Regions from separate parts of the Homo sapiens genome. Here region 2 is linked to region 1. The links are contacts of gene promoters, found by promoter capture Hi-C in human tissues and cell types (Jung and others, 2019). All regions are on one chromosome and are shown on one strand. The core of a region is centred on a gene start or on the middle of the fragment in contact, and the rest is flanking DNA. Distances in the headings are between cores, read along the strand shown.

Evidence for each region. The method cuts DNA at HindIII sites, captures the fragments that hold promoters and counts their contacts. A contact is called where the count stands out against the background at its distance.
Region 2: a fragment that was not itself captured here is called in contact with the fragment with the promoter of TEKT1 in region 1 in 1 of the 25 tissues and cell types used here (psoas muscle).

What each region holds. Positions count from the first base shown.
Region 1 is chr17:6,828,078-6,833,848 of GRCh38, reverse strand. TEKT1 (tektin 1) reads left to right here and starts at 2,120. Exons shown (of 8, transcript NM_053285.2): 1 at 2,120-2,200; 2 at 3,456-3,662. The coding sequence starts at 3,473. RefSeq lists a silencer at 2,108-2,157. The HindIII fragment of the contact is 13,856 bases long and covers 1-5,771 here.
Region 2 is chr17:6,784,518-6,790,288 of GRCh38, reverse strand. It overlaps FBXO39 (F-box protein 39), which reads right to left. Exons shown (of 4, transcript NM_153230.3): 3 at 3,333-3,509; 4 at 2,643-2,989. The coding sequence ends at 2,861. Among named protein-coding and RNA genes, the nearest start is that of FBXO39, 11 kb to the right of the region's middle. The HindIII fragment of the contact is 9,989 bases long and covers 1-5,771 here.

The sequences.
Region 1 (5,771 bases), core at 871-3,370:
CAATCTGGTCTTGAACTTCTGAGCTCAAGCAATCCTCCCGCCTTGGCCTCCCAAAGTGCCAAGATTACAGGTGTGAGCCACCATGCCCAGCCCTTGTGCAGCTTTTAACTTTTCTCAGAATTTGTATTTGTCTATTTTTAACTTATAAAAATTAAAAAATATTTTAATAGGGGTCTGTGTCACCCAGGTTGGAGTGCAATGGTGTGATCATAGCTCACTGCAGTCTCAAACTCCTGAGCTCAAGCCATACCTCCCAGGCATTCCAAGTGATGGCACCTCAGGCATGCATCACGGAGACTGTCATCATTTATCTACTTTTTATTGCTCAGAAGAGACATAATTTCAACTCACCATGTGGTTATACTTCTGGGTTATGAATCATAGTTTGTATAACTCTTCTTAAAGATATTGTTCAAAACTTCTTTTGACTTTTAGTTGTAATTTGGACTCATTGCTTTTTAGTTCGGTAGCTATTACACCGAGCTTTCTTTTCATCACACAGCTGGGTTGGTTCCACTATGTCTTATGTCCAGTATCTTCTTCTTTCTGGATTTTTCACTTTTGCTCTATTATTTTTTTCCATAAAGAATGTACGCTCACCGTTTTGAGTACTGGCATGTCCAAAGAAATCTTTTATTTTGCTCTCATACATGAAATGCTTTGACTGGTTGTAGAATCCCAGATTTGAAATAATTTTCTATAGAATTTGAAGGCATTATCCTAGCATCATTTCTAGCAACCATCATTTCTAGCCACCTGTGTTAGAGACGAAACACTTGATACCTATTCTTTCTTTTTCTTCTTATTCTTTGAATTAAGAAATTCCACCAGAATAGGTATAAAGTTGGCCCTTCCTATCCGTGGATTCTACATCCTTGGATGCGATGACACACAAATAAAAAATATTCAGGAAAAAAATTCCACAAAGCTCCAAAAAGCAAAACTTGAATTTGTTGCACCCTGAGTGCTATGTTGAATCCATGCGAATGAAGCGATGAGTAGGCATGGTTAGACATTGTATTAGGTATTGTATTAGGCATTGTATTAGGTATTATATTAGGTATTAGGTGTTGTATTATGTATTGTATTATGTATTGCATTAGGCACTGTATTAGGCACTATATTAGGTATTGTATTAGGCATTGTATTAGGTATTGTAGCAATCTAGAGATGACGTAAAGTATGCCTATCTAGGGATGTGCGTAGGTTATATACAAATGCTACACCACTTTATATGAGACTTGAGAATCTGCAGATTTCAGTATCTGAGGGGGATCCTGGAGCTAATCACTCTATGGATTATATGCATAATCCACAGGGAGGACTATATGTAAGGAATGGGGGTGTGTGTTAATTTCAGGTGGGTCGTTAATCTAAAGACTTGAGTCTTTGGCTCAAGTTATCTCTCTCTCACTTTCACAATTGTTTTGCCATTCTCTCTCTTTTTTTCTTTCCTTCTGGAAGTCCTACTTGACAAATATTAAATCTTCTGGAGCTATCCCCTCAGATTTAATTTTTCTCCCATATTTTCCATCTCCTAGTGGATGCAGAGTGACTTCTGGAGTGTTTGCCTGAAGGCGTTCTACTCACACACCTGCCCTCACAGAGTGCCCCATCGGGCGCCCCACGCAGAAATAAGCCAGTTGTGGTAACAGACCTATACAAACTCTGGAGGAAACTCATTGTAGCTTACAGAAACAATCAACTTGGCTTCCTGATTTTTAACCCTCAATTTCGCCTGCGACTGCGAGGTCCTGGAGGCATCGCCCAGCCCAACCCCACTGTACAGCCGGGAAGTCTGAGAGCCGGGGTACAGCGCGACCCGAGATGATCCCGCCCGCGGGAGGGCTCGGACTAGACGCAGGTCTCCTGACTCCCAGCTCGGGGCTTTGGCCGCTGTCTTCTGCTTGGTGCCCCGCGTCTTCGCGGTAGGTTGAGGTGGCCGGAGCATCTGGCCCTACCCTTCCCACACGCCACACTCCTGGGTCTCTGGCTCTGGGGTCCGCAGAATTTGCGCCTGCGCTAAGCCTTTGGCCAGGCTGCTCAGTGGCGGAACCAGCCCTCTTTGCCCTGGCAACGCGTCACTTGTTGTCATGGAGACCGCGTTGTTTACCTCTCTGTTCTGCAAGAGCTGGAAGCTCCAGTTGGGGTAAGGAGGCTCCCATCCCGAGCTTGCGTAGTGGTTCTGTGTGGCGCTGAGGTAAGTAAACCATGACCCCACCCCACCGACCCCTACCCGCAACCCTCCCCGCCTAACCAAATCCTTATGACGTTGGGATGAGCCCTAATTTAGGTCCCCACCTCTCTGGGGGCTATTCAGACTTATCCAGGAGCCTTGGGTTAAATGCTGGGCTCCACACTCAGATAAATTCGGTAGAAGCCATAAAAGGGACTGGGCTAGGAAGAAACGGAGAAACTCCATGTTGTCTGAGGGGGCTGGGTGGGCTGAGGTTCTCAGCCTAGTCAAGATCTGACTCTAGTTTCATCCTTATATATGTGAAGGCTTCAGAGATCCAGAGGCCCCTAAGAGCAGGGACTCAGACCTTAGGGTAGAGATGGGAGTGGGGGCAGATTTCAGCCCTGTCTGAGGAAGGCAGTTCTCATGGTCCATCAGAGTTGTATGAAGATGAAATGGGTAATTTTAGCGTTTCCACTGCCGACAGCCTCTGCCAGCTGGCTTCCCCTGTGTTGTTCCCCTTCCTGTTCTCTCCTTTTCTTTGTCCTGGAAGTTTTCAGATTCTTTTATGTGTTGAACAAGTTCAATACCCAGTTGTCAGTTTACACATGTTACATTTCCTCCTCCTCCTCCTCCTCCTCCTCCTTCTTCTTCCTCTTCTTTTTCTTCTTCTTTTTTTAAGAAAACATCTCTGGGCTCATCTGTTTGGCAGAACATTACTCCATGACCCAACAATTCTAATGAGTTATAAAAATGCATACACGTGTTCACCAAAAGACATGTATGAGACTATTAATAGCATTCTCATTATGGCCCTGGAGTGTAAACAACCCAAATATCCATAAACAGTAGAAAAGACAGCTAGATTTTATTCATATAACGGCACCTACACAGCAACGAGAACGAACAAACTGCAATCATATAGACAATATGGATGAATTTTACAAACATAATGTTGAGCTAAAGAAGTCAGAGACAGAATAATACATACTGTATTATTCCATTTATGTTAAATTCAAAAACAGCAAAACGAATTTGTAGTGTTAAAAGTCAGGATACTGGTTACCCTGAGGGGCTTGAGGTGGAGTAACTGGGAGGAGGTTAGAGATGCTGGTAATGCTTGTTTCTTGGTTTGGGTGCCGGCTACACAGATAGATTTATTTTGTGTACAGATTATGATTTATGCAATTTTCCGTATATATGTCATCCTTGAATAAAAATTATCATAAAAAAGGACAAATTGCTTTCATTTAATCTAAAAGAGTCTGCTTTTGATCAGGAATTTGGAAACCTCAAATGGCTAAACTATTACAACCTCCACCCAAGTTCCTGCCCTCAGAGTGGCACATTGCTAACAAGAACCAGTACCACAGAGCAGACGCTCAAAGGTCCCGATCAGAACGCCTGGTCGCAGAAAGCCAGAGGCTTGTGGATGAAATTGAAAAGACCACAAGAAAATCTCAAAGCGATGTGAACAAGAAACTAGGTAAGACAACATGCTTGGCATATTCGTGAACATGCTAGGATGAGGCTGTTGAGTTTAGCTATAGTGTCATGTTCAGATGTGGCAACATATTATTTTTGAATATTAGAGAAAATCATGTGTATTCTCCAGGTTCTATGTTTAAGTTCACTGCCCTAAGATAGACACAAGGTAACCCAGCCTGATTTTCAGCCACCCATCATTCATTTATTTGTTGATTTGATGCACAGTTATTGAGCATCTATGGGCATCTATGTACTACACACTAGGCATATCACAGGGAATGATCAGAATCTCTGCTTTTTAGGGGCTTCTAACTTGAAGAGGATAAAGATACAAAAATTAATCATCAGAATACAGTCAGCCCTTTGTATCCATGGGTTCAGCCAGTTGTAGGTCCAAAATACTTAGGAAAAAAAAACAATAAAAGATTACAACAATTAAAGAATACAAATAAAAACAATACAGTTCAACAGCTATTTACATAGTATTTGCATTGTATTAGGTATTATAAGTAATCTGAAGATGATTTAAAGTATACTGGCTGGGTGTGGTAGCATGTGCTGTTAGTCCCAGCTACTTGGAGGGCTGAGGCAGTAGGATCCTGTAAGCCCAGGAGTTAGAGACCACCCTGGGTGATATACCAAGACCCTGTTTCATAAAAAAAAAAAAAAGAAAGAAAAAGAAAGGAAGAATGAAAGAGAGAAAGAAAGAAAGAAAGAGAAAGAAAAGAAAGAGAAAAGGAAAGTATATGGGAAGATGTGCATAGGTTATATGAAAACACTACACCATTTTGTATAAAAGACTTGAGCATCCATGGATTTTGGTGTCTGTCAGGGACTCTGGAACAAATCCTCTGAGGATACCAAGGGACAGGTGTATAACCAGATAGGTGCTGGGGTAGGGGAACAAAGACGGGGCGGAGTAGATGTGAAAAATTGGAAAAGTTTTTCTAGAGAAGAACATTTACTTGAGTCTTAAAAGGAGTCATTTTCTCTTGACAATTCCTTACTTAAAACAGTATTTACTTAAATTTCTTGAGACAGAGTCTCGCTCCATCACACAGGCCAGAGTACAGTGGCACAATCTCAGCTCACTGCAATCTCTGCCTTCCAGGTTCGAGCGCTTCTCCTGCCTCAGCCTCCTGAGTAGCTGGGATTACAGGCGTGCACCATCACACCCGGCTAATTTTTGTATTTTTGGTAGAGACGGGGTTTCATCATGTTGGCCAGGCTGGTCTTGAACTCCTGACCTCAGGTGGTCCGCCCGCCTCAGCCTCCCAAAGTCTGGGATTACAGGCACGAGCCACCGCACCCTGCCTAAAACAGTATTTAAAAGGTAGCGTTCTTTAGCAAAGATCTCAGGAAAGCACATTTAAAAAAAAAGATAGTATCCTTAAATAATCAAAACAAAAATAAACATAAAACAAAACAAACAACCAACGTCGGCTAAATGCCAAAAAGGGATTAACCAGGGGTAACCAACTCGACTATCTATAGGGACCAAGCAGGTAGCATAGGGATTGAATGTAAGGCATTAGGGTTTAGTAGGGACTGTGGGGACCTGGAGAACGTGTGCCCCATCTAAGGAGGAAGCTGCTACTCAGTTTCAACCCATTGCTTCCAAGAAAGAACATGAGCCCAGTGTTGCCTGATTGTCCGATTTTTTCAAGAAAATCTGGAAAGCAGGAATTTATTCACGTTTTAAATGTTGGTAACTGACTTAATTTATTTATAACACTGGGCCAGCTGAACAAACACGTTTATGGATCAAACCTGGTCTGAGGACTGTAGTTTTCTAATTTCCAGTAAATGAAACCTTCATTCAGGTCAGCAATGTTAGATGTTAGGCTCTCCTAATAGGTTGACCCTTACATTGATACCACCCTGTAGATAGGCCTGTTCTAAATAATTGTGCAAATAGGTAGGTGTTAAAAATGAGAAGGCGCCCGGGCATGGTGGCTCACGCCTGTGATTCCAGCACTTTGGGAGGCCAACGTGGGCGGATCACAAGGTCAGGAGATTGAGACCATCCTGGCTAACATGGTGAAACCCTGTCTTTACTAAAAATACAAAAAATTAGTGGGGCATGGTGGCATGCATCTGTAGTCCC
Region 2 (5,771 bases), core at 1,187-3,686, 44 kb after region 1:
TGCTCAAGCTGGCACAGACCCTTGTTCCCTCATCATCTCTGGATACCATGGGAAATCTTCAGTATTTTGGAGTCCTTGAGGTCTGTTTGTGAATAAATGCTACCTGTGAGTGCCATGTGGTGGATGGTGAGTCTATAACAGCTGCAAATCCTTTGTCTGACAATGTCACCAACACTTCTCACTTCTGAAAACCTCAGCTAAGCAAAAATATGGGCACAGCACACAAGAGGCAAGACAAACAAAATCTGAAATGTCACTTGTTAAAAGTGTTCTGAGATTTTGTTAATTTATATCTATTGAAAAACAGAACTCTATGCCACTGCATGCACAAAACCCCCAAAGGACCAGAAGTAATACAATGTCTATGGCATGGGCTCAGGAATTTATTATTATCATCGATCCTCTCTTCCAACCATGCTCTTCACTTAATAGAATTACGGTACAACAGACCCCAAATCCTCTTGCTGTGGGGATAATACGTAGGAATTAAGAGCAGAGCTCTGGAATTAGATTGGGTTTGACACTCACTTCCAGAACTTCCTAAATGTGTGACCAGGGCAGGTTAGACTTGCCAATCCTTCAGGATCCCTGTAAAAGAGGGATAATAGTAGTCTCTGCTTTCTAGAGCTGTGTGAGGATTAAATGAAACTAGGTGAATTTATGTCTAGCATGTAAACACTCAACCAGTGATCACTTTAATAACTGTCGAGACAAGCTGGGTGGAGGAAGGGAGAGGGAATGGGTTCTTCTCATTTTGTTGTTTGGGAGGAAGAAAGAGTCTTGGGTTCTAAATCTGGAGACTTTGGTATTAGTTCTGCCACAAACTGGCTGTATGACTCGGGGTAAGTTAACTTCCTTAGAGCCTGTTCCTTCATATATCAAACAAGATAAAAGCCAACACGGGCCAGGTGTGTGTGTTGCAATGCATGTAATTAATTTTTTCTTCGTTTACACACAGAGAAGCTGAAACTCAAGGAGGTTAAATTCTTGCCCCAAGGCACAAGACAAGTTCATGGCAGGCCAGTACTCATCCAGACACCTGGCTCCAAAAGCCAGGTTTGGGGCCATCAAACTTGGCCATTCACATCTATGTTCAACATCACAGACCCGGTCTCAGCATATTTGTGGAAAAATAAAGGAGACACAGGAAAAACGGAGGAAGGAGATTCGAGTCCACGATGCCATTAAGTCAGGGGCTGAGTTCCTTCTGTGGGAGGGAGTTCCAGCTCTGAGCAGACTCCTCCTAAAAGTGGGGCTTTTCCTGCTTCACCCAAGGGCAGGCTGGAGATTTCTATGCATCTGAGATTGGGCCCAGACAATGACAATGTCAATGTCAGCAGACTCCCCAATGAAGGTCAGTGGATACAAAGGATTTCTAAACTGATAATGTCGGTCAGTAGAAAATGTGATTCTATTTGCTTAATGGTTACACACACCCTTTCAGGTGCACAGGTTAGCAAGAGTCAGGGTCCTCTAGTAAGAGTCTATTCTGGGGCTGGGTGCGGTGGCTCACGCCTGTAATCCCAGCACTTTGAGAGGCTAAGGCAGGTGGATCATTTGAGGCCAGGAGGTGGAGACCAGCCTGGCCAACGTGGTGAAACCTTATCTCCACAAAAAATACGAAAATTATCTGGGCATGGTGGTGCATGCCTGTAATCCCAGCTACTTGGAGGCTGAGGCAGGAGAATTGCTTGAACCTGAGAGGCAGAAGTTGCAGTGAGCCGAGATTGCACCACTGCACTCTAGCCTGGGCAACAGAATGAGACTCTGTCTGAGGACTAAGCTCTGATTTTTTTTTTTTTTAAATCTTGCCCAAATTCCTATCTAAGGGGTCTGAGGAATCATGCCCTACAAGCCATAAATTCTAATTAGATGGGTTTTAGTTAACCCTGTATATAGTGACTTTCCAATCTGACTCTGGCATAACAAGGAAGAAAATCAAAATGTTTTATCCCAAAATATATTTTCTTGCCATACTTTGAAATTGCCCTGCAAAGTCTCTTGTGGGAAAAATCCATATTCTGTAGAGAATCTCCTCTCCCCTTTGTTTTCCTTCCTTCCTTTCTGGTTCCAGGAGATAATCAACTAAGAGCCAGGGACCGTTCTAATTCCAATAAGAAACATTTTACAACCTGCTCTCTCTGAAGTCTGCTATCTGAGAGCTTCCTTTGCGCAGTAAAACTTGGTCTCCACAATCCTTTATCTCATCCCAAACATTTCTTTTCTGTTGATCCCAGGTCTTCAGATAAACTCAACCAATTGTCAACCAGAAAATGTTTAAATTTACCTATACCCTGGAAGCCCCTGCTTTGTTGCCCCGCCTTTCTGAATCAAACCAATATATTTCTTAAATCTATTTGATTGATGTCTCTTGCCTCCTAAAATATATAAAAGCAAGCTGTACCCCAATCACCTTGGGCACATGTTCTCAGGACCTCCTGAGGGCTGTATCACAGGCCATGGTCACTCATATTTGGCTCAGAATAAATCTCTAAAAATATTTTACAGAGTTTGACTCTTTTCGTCAACACATCTCAAAAAAAAAAAAAGGAAGCTACTCTGAGTGGCTTTGGGTTTTTAGCTCTGTGGACGAGTGAGGGTGTCAAAAAGCAAAACTGACAAAAAGAGAAATGACACCGGGATAGTTGGTAAACATAGCGCTTTAAAGCCACCTGGAGCCTTCAGGTCATGGGCAGTCTCAGCCTTTGCTGAGCTGGTCATGTTGTCATGGAGCTGACAAAAAAAAAAAGTGGAGGGGAGAGAGAGGAGCAAAAGGGCCGGCAGTGCCCAAGTGTAGTTCTAAGAGAAATGATTTTCAAGTTCAAAGTGCTCCCAGCTTTCTTCATCTGTAGAGTGCTCATTACATCACAGAGTAAACGATGACAAAATAGCTAAGCTCTGATTCGATCAGCTTTCTGTACTTCCTGTAAATTTCCTGCAGGGTCTTGTCCTCTTCATTCGTCTCATATCTGTTTGTATAAATTCTCGCCTGTGCCAACAGAGAAATACATCCACATATGAGCACGCACACACGCACACACACACACACATACACACACACACACGGTGACTACACTTTTCAGGGCTTGACAGCAACTTAAATGATCTACACATACAGTTGTTGAATCAGGAAAATATGTTGGCAGAATCAGAAAAAGACCAAACCCAACTACTAGAAAAGAGAGCTCCAGATTCCCTTCTTTGAAACTGCTGATTTTCAATGAACAGATGATTGTCCCCCACTGCCTTATTCAGCCCTTCGTTCCAGAGCAGAAGCACCATTCCTGGATGCCCCCACTCTACGCCGTGGAACCAGCCTGGGGACCTCTTACCTTGAATACACGCAGGGCACACTGCCGTTCTTTCTGACTCTTCAGGATCCGCTCCACAAAACTAACATCAAGGAAAGCCCAGATTTTGAAGTAAAACAACTTCCTGCAGGATATGATGAGGAGGTGCAGCTCCTCGTCGAGTGACTCATGGTTGTTGTTGAATTCACAAGTTAATTTCTGGAAGAGCACCAAAAGGGAAGATGTGTGTGGGCAGAGATGCTGAGCCTGGCTGAGTTGTTCTGTAACATTTCCACGACCTGGCTCTGGGCCTGATAGCCATGATGATTTGGGGGTTTTTAACTTTAATTTTTAATTTTTGTGGTACATAGGTACATATATTTATGGGGTATATGGGATATTTTGATGTAGGCATACAATGTGTAATAATCACAATGGGGTAAATAGAGTATCCATGACTTCAAGCATTTATCCTTTGTGTTACAAACAATCCAATTATACTCTTTTAGTTTTTAAAAAATGTACAATTAAATGATGATTGACTATAGACACCCTGTCGTGCTATCAAATACTAGATCTTGTTCATTCTTTCTAACTTTTTTTGTACCCATTAGCCATCCCCACTTCCCTCTGCACCCCCTACTACCCTTCCCAGCCTCTGGTAAGCGTCCTTCTACTCTCTATCTCCATGAGTTGAATTGTTTTAATTTTTAGCTCCCACAAATAAGTGAGAACATGCAAAGTTTGTCCTTCGGTGCCTAGCATATTTCACTTAACATAACAACCTCAGTTGCATCTATGTTATTGCAAACAACAGAATCTCATTCTTTTTTGTGACTGAATAGTACTCCATTGTGTACATGTACCACATTTTCTTTATCCATTGATGGACACTTAGGTTGCTTCCAAATATTGGCTATTGTGAACAGTGCTGCAATAAACATGAGAGTGCAGACATCTCTTTGATATATTGACTTTCTTTCTTTGGGGTATACACCTAGCAGTGGGATTGCTGGATCATATGTAAGCTCTATTTTTAGTTTTTTGAGGAACCTCCAAACTGTTCTCTACAGTGGCTGTACTACTTTAAATTCCCACCAACTGTGTATGAGAATTTCCTTTTCTCTACATCCTTTCCAGCATTTGCTATTGCCTGTCTTTTGAATAAAAATCGTTTTAACTGGGGTGAGATAATATCTCATTGTGGTTTTGATTTGCATTTCTCTGATGATCAGTGATGTTGAGCACCTTTTAATATACTTATTTTGCCATTTATATGTCTTCTTTTGAGAAATATCTGTTCAAGTCTTTTGCCTATTTTTTAATTGGATTACTATTTTTTTTTCCTATAGAGTTGTTTGAGCTCTGTATATTCTGTTTATTTATTAATCCCTTGTGATATGGGTAGCTTACAGATATTTTCTCCCATTCTTCCTGTGGGTTGTCTCTTCACTTTGTTGATTGTTTCCTTCATTGTACAGAAACTTTTTAACTTGATGTGATCCCATTTGTCTATGTTTGCTTAGATTGCCTGTGCTTGTGGGTATTGCTCAAGAAGTCTTTGCCCAGTTCAATGCCCTGGAGAGTTTCCCCAATGTTTTCTTGTAGCAGTTTCATAGTTTGAGGTCTTAGATTGAAGTCTTTAGTCCATTTTGATTTGATTTTCATATATGGCAAGAGATAGTGGTCTAGTTTCATTCTTCTGCATATGGCTATCCAGTTTTCCTAGCACCATTTACTGAAGAGGAGATCGTCCTTTTCCCAATGTATGGTTTTGGCATCTTTGTCAAACATGAGTTCACTACAGATGAATGAATTTGTTTCTGGGTTCTCTATTCTGTTCCATTGGTCTTTATGGGATTAATAAATAACCAGAATATATAAGGGGCTTAAAATCTGTTTTTATGTCAGTCTCATGCTGTTTTAGTGACTATAGCTCTGTAATATAATTTGAAGTCAGGTAATGTGGTTTCTACAGTTTTGTTCTTTTTGGTCAGGACAGCTTTAGCTATTCTGCATCTTTTGTGGTTCCATATATATATATACACACACACACACACACACACACATATATATATATAAATTTAAGATTCTTTGTTCTATTTCTGTGAAGAATGTCATTGGTATTTGGATAGGATTGCACTGAATCTGTAGATGGCTTTCGATAGTATAAACATTTTGACAACATTGATTCTTCCAACTCATGAACATAGAATATCTTTCCATTTTTTTGTGTCCTTTTCAATTTCTTGCATCAATATTTTATAATTTTCATTGTAGAGATCTTTCATTCCTTCGGTTAATTCCTAGGTATTTAATTTTATTTGTAGCTATTATAAACAGGATTACTTTCTTGATTTCTTTTTCAGATTGTTCACTGTTGGCATATAGAAATGCTACTGATTTTTATATGTTGATTTTGTATCCTGCAACTTTACTGAATTTGTTTAGCTGATAGTTTTTTTTGTTTTTGTTTTTGGT